Linked DNA regions of Homo sapiens: region 1 is linked to region 2. Evidence: promoter capture Hi-C in 16 types of primary human blood cells and fetal thymus (Javierre and others, 2016). All regions are on one chromosome and are shown on one strand. The core of a region is centred on a gene start or on the middle of the fragment in contact, and the rest is flanking DNA. Distances in the headings are between cores, read along the strand shown. Region 1 holds the start of SSX2IP (SSX family member 2 interacting protein). Region 2 overlaps PRKACB (protein kinase cAMP-activated catalytic subunit beta).

Region 1 (2,700 bases), core at 90-2,589, 510 kb after region 2:
AAGTTTTGCCGACTGGATCCAAATTCATAAATCTACCTCTAACTTCTAAATTTCAAAATAGCTTGACGTGAACTTTAAAGGCATTTCTTTCCTCTCCAAATTTCTAATTCTTTACAAATTTTATTCACTCTCCTAAATGAGTCAACTCATACCAACCTTTCTAGTTCAGGATCAAACTGTAGGATCACCAGAATTTTCTTCTACCCCACAGTAAGCCAAACCCCCATGAACCATGAAAAGGTCCATGACATCCATCACCCACAGCTAACTCTACACCTTGACTCTAATCTGAATTGTTAGAAAGCCCAGGAAGTTCAAGAAGCCTCCACCCTTACACTTCTAAATCACCTTCTTTTCTAATCCTCAACCTATTACAGCGTCCAGAAAAGAGAAATCTCAATTCTCTCAGATTCAAGAACTTTATCAGCGTTGCTAGTAATCGCAGTTTGGCATTTACAACTATGGGTCCTGAAACTGGGTAATAATCTAAAAATTCCTACATTATACGTGCAGACAGCAAATTAGTATATTCTATGTCCTGGGCCCAAGCGATATGCCTAACTGGGCAATCAGCATAGGCTCAAAAAATGTGCAGGGAGCTCACAATTCAGTTTACTGTCGTTGACTATAAAATTCTAAACCAAAGTATTTTCATGATAAAATTATAAACCAAAGTATTTTCACACATGCCTGCCTCTTGGATGATGTAAATTCTTCCCCTAGACTTTTTACTAGACCACTATCGGGGTTCTCTTCCACTGCAGCGGCCACCCAATAACTCGTTTTAAAGACTGCCTCTTGCGGCTGCACTAGCAAATCGCCAAACCCCGCATGCCCCACGGCCGCTGCTGAGACTCTGCAGCCCCAAATCGGCCATCCCCTCCTCCCCCACGTCCCCGCGCTGCTCGTCCCCCAACGCCGGGCGCCAACCTTGCTCCATCCCAGAGAGGGTTTGGGGCTCCCCGGGTCAGAGCGCTCCGCAGGCGCAGCTCCGCGAACGCCAGCGAGAGCGGTCCCGGGGCCAGCACCTACCTCCCACCTCCTCCTCCAGGAGCGGCCCGGGTCGACGCTCGCCCGCACCCTGCAACGGCCCCAACAGCCGCGCGGAGCCTCCCGCCGAACAACGGGGCGCTGAGCCAGGTGCCGGCTCTCACCTCCGCGCGCGCCCGCCCCTTGCCGGCGCCCACCCCCGCCCGCCCCTCCCTGGCGGGGCGCGTCACAATCCCCGACGCGAGGCGCTGCTGCTCACCGTCACGGCCCCCGGGAGCGGCGGGGAGTCACCGCTCGGCGTCCTAGCCCGGCTCCCGCAGCCCGAGGGCCAGCAGCGCCTCGCAGCGCCTCCCGCCCGCGGCCCCTCCTCCGCTGCGGGCTCCCGCCTTCCCCGCCCCTTGCAGCCGCCTCCCGGCCTCCGCAGGTTTCCGAGGTTCCCACCCCGCCCCCGCGCGCCGGCGCCGCAGGCCCCGCCGCCTCCCATTGGCTCCGCCAGTTGCTAGGCGATGAACAACCGTGGCCTGCATTGGTCGGGTGGGGGCCTCGGTAGTCTCCTCCTTACCTCCAAAAAAACCCGGAGAAAAAGAAGACCTTATCCCTGCGGTCCGCGCGCGCTGCGGGCGCAGCTGCGGCTGCGGCACCTGTTACGCCCAGTGATTCACCCGGCCGTTTTCTGCTCCCCGCCCCCTTCTGACGCCTGCAGCGTCCGGGGCCGGGGCTCTGTGGGGGCCGGGACTCTGCAGGGACCGGGGTCGTGGCTACTTTAGAGCACGTTTTCCGAGCCCCACTGAACCCCAACACCCAGCCTAGCAGCAAAAGTGAAGCTTCCAGGAGAGCCACGTGCGTTTGCCAAAGTGGAGAAATAAACTGCGGGCACCTAGAATTAGGTCAGGTCCAAGGAACGGGAGGTTCAAGCGTCGGGAGTCGTGGATGCAAACAATCCAGCCGGGAGAAAGTTATATGTAAAATTAGGGCGAAGAAATGGATCTGGGCAGAAGACCGCGGGCAAAGGAAAGACTAAGAAATAGCATTCGTGAACTCAGTTTATGCAAAAATGTCTTACACCCACTCGACAAAGTATGTGCGATGAAAATGTATGCCTGCTGCACCCGTGGCCAGGGTCAGGCTGTCTCCTCCCTGGTTTCATGGCAGCCTAAAATTCACTGGGGAAGAAAAGAAAAGAGGCCAGAGAAAGGAGATCAGATGGAGAAATCACAGGCATATAGGTTACACAAAGATGTTCTTTGATTTTTGTTTTGTTTAGTTTTGGTGAAGCCAAGGGATTTATTCAAAAGGCGAAAAACAGGTTTGGTGTTTTAAGGAGACTCCTGAGAGCACTTTGAAACCAAAACAGTATGAGTGAAGATGCTAACACTGAAAAACAAGAGCGGGAGGAATGTCCACCTCCCAGTTTGCATGCACGTATCCCCAATCCTGGATGAAAGATCAGGGCCAGAAGAAGCACGCCACGGTGACAACTTCAGGGCCCAACGAAATCCTCCTCTTTTCCTTTGGCCAAGCAATCAGAGGCCCGTCTAGCTGCTGTTGAGCCCAGGTGGCGTTACCATTAACAGTTACATTTTTAAAAGGTTTGAACCAAGCTTAGTTGAGCTCTGGGAAGTTTAGCTCTGACCTCAGCAACCCCGGGAAAGGAATAAGATCTGCCTGAATAAACCAGCGGTCTCAATCTTTTGGTCTCAAGACCGCTTT
Region 2 (2,700 bases), core at 177-2,676:
AAAACAAGCTATAAGTAAAACAGAATTGCCTGCTGTCTGTAATGATCCAACAGAAAGCTAAAATGGGTCTCAAAAGGCAAGGTTTGATTTGCAATACAGATAAAATCCAACTACAGTGAACTGTAATACCTATACAAATTCCTCACTGGACAAAGAATCATACTGCATCACATTTTTTCAAGCTAAACACTACATACTGGGCCTTCAGAATATTTTTCTGATATTTTCATGGAGTTCTTTGCAATGAAACCTATTAAACAAATGGGTCAGCAATTACTACTTCTTGCCATTTAACACATAATTTGTCCCTAATAATTTTCATTTTGTTGTGGCAGGAACAAATTTAATAGATTGATGCCTCCAATTATTTGCTTCTGTGCTGTAGTCAAAGCCAAACAAAGATGTTTCCTTATAACAAAACATCTATTCAAGAAAAAAAGAGTCTGATTATTGTTCTGGGATTCTGGCTTTTGGTTCTTTGTAGAATGAGGAACTCTTCTTTCCTTATTGTTGTTGTTTTAGATAATACTGTGTTTTTATAATATAAAGAGAGAAAGCCACTAGGCTCTCTCATGCTGCTACTATCTAGTTCTATAAGCTTATATAAAGACAGAAATGAAGCAAGACTGATTTCTTCACAGGTAACTTTAGTGAAAGAGCTCTGATCCCTCAGTTTATCTATTCATTACAGTTATTTGCAAGTGCATTAAGTCTGTATGGCTTCTATGACTCTTTGTCAGTATGCCTCTGGTCAGTTTGTAATTATTAAAATATGAAACTAATTTATTGGAAGTTCAGTAGTAAGATTAAAGTCCAATACTAGGAATGCATACTGGAATATAATCTTTAATATTTCAGCTGAGGCTCTTATTTCCTCCTATTACTATTATGCTCTGTTTTCCAATACATTCTCTCCTCAGATATTAAATACTTTCTTATTCAAAGGGAAAAATAGAACCAATAAACTGGAATCTCAATAGCTTTTTTGTATTGCATTTAAATGGATAGTTATAAATGGGATTATCCATTATGATTATGTATTATTAAAGCATTTATAATTCCCATAGTGTTTTTACGAGAATTTTAAATTTTATTTATGTATTTACATATAGAATAATGCCGGACTTGAAGATTTTGAAAGGAAAAAAACCCTTGGAACAGGTTCATTTGGAAGAGTCATGTTGGTAAAACACAAAGCCACTGAACAGTATTATGCCATGAAGATCTTAGATAAGCAGAAGGTGAGTGTATTTGTTGTTATTTACCTTCAGGGTAAACTTTAGTTTTATCAGCTAGACTATTAAACAGATTCAGTATAATGACTTACCATTGACAGCTTCAAATAATTTTATTATTAAATTTAATTTTTATTGTAACTAAATTTTTATTGTAACTATATTATACATAGTTAGTATACAGTCAGCCCTTCCATATCTATGGGTTCCACGTCCATGGATTTAACCAATCACAGATTGAAGATATTTGGGAAAAAAATTACATCTATACCTAACATGTACAGACTTTTGTTTCTTGTTATTATTCCCTAAACAATACAGTGTAACAACTATTTACATAGCATTTACAATATATCAGGTATTATAAGTAATCTAGAGATGATTTAAAGTATATGGACAGTGTGTATAGGCTTTATGCAAAGCCTCTGTCATTTTATATAAGGGACTTGAGCACCTGGGCATTTTGGTTTCTGCTGTAGGTCCTGGAACCAACCCCCAGGGATACTGATGGACAACTATAATTTATTGTGACAATTATGGACTAATTTGTTTTGTAACTATTACAGAAGTTAAAATGTGTACAGTAGTGATCCAACCACTTCATGTTACAAATTTTGAAAACCTGAGGCCCAAAGATTTGAAATCATCTCAAGTCAGAAAGTTAGTTAAATAAAAGGCCTAGATTAAAACACAAATCTGACTCCTACTCAATTTATTTGCTCAATATTATCAGTATACTCCTAATTTTATATATTAATACCTGGCTGGTATCTTTAATTACTTTTGTTATTTATATTTAACTTCTTGACTTCTGTGACTATCCTCACATTGACCATTAGACTCCAGCAAGAAAGAATGCCACCTTCTAATGATTTACACATATACAAGAAAATTATTTATATGTCTTGCTAAAGTCACCACTTCTTAAATTCAAAATAGAATCACATATGGAATAGAATCACAGTCTTCGTGAAGTCAAGATAAATTACTTTCCCCTTCTATTAAATAGAAAATCTAGAGGAAGCTTAAGTCTAAATGACCTAGGATACAAAGATAGTTTTTGTTATAAAGATAGTTTTTTCCCCAATATTTTGTGTGTCCTCTTCTATGGCAATATAAAATAAATTTTTAGAATTTATACCTATATTTATTTAGATATTATAAAATGAAAATTGTTCATTTTTACTCACTATTTTTCAGTTATGGACTTTCTCTTCATTTTTAATTTTCTTATTCATCTTCTGAAGTATTTAAAATCACTATCTACTTATTGCAGAGATTTGAGCCAGCTTTTATAGAGGACTTTAAGTCATTAGGACCTTAGTATTTTCACATTCATTTTTAAATTACCTTAAGTAATTATATATTTATTTAAGCATAATTGACATAACTAATTTTTAAAGTAATTTCTTATGAGTTTGTTTCTTATTCCTACTTAGCTCTCACTTCTTAATTGAAACCATAA

Evidence for each region. The method cuts DNA at HindIII sites, captures the fragments that hold promoters and counts their contacts. A CHiCAGO score of 5 or more calls a contact.
Region 1: a contact is called between the fragment with the promoter of SSX2IP here and a fragment that was not itself captured in region 2, in 9 of 17 cell types (megakaryocytes, erythroblasts, total CD4 T cells and 6 more). The highest score is 8.1, in megakaryocytes.

What each region holds. Positions count from the first base shown.
Region 1 is chr1:84,689,122-84,691,821 of GRCh38, forward strand. It overlaps SSX2IP (SSX family member 2 interacting protein), which reads right to left and starts at 1,340. Exons shown (of 14, transcript NM_001166293.2): 1 at 1,250-1,340. RefSeq lists a silencer at 792-1,551. The HindIII fragment of the contact is 1,864 bases long and covers 1-1,812 here.
Region 2 is chr1:84,181,088-84,183,787 of GRCh38, forward strand. PRKACB (protein kinase cAMP-activated catalytic subunit beta) reads left to right here. Exons shown (of 10, transcript NM_182948.4): 3 at 1,113-1,241. Among named protein-coding and RNA genes, the nearest start is that of PRKACB, 38 kb to the left of the region's middle. The HindIII fragment of the contact is 1,661 bases long and covers 597-2,257 here.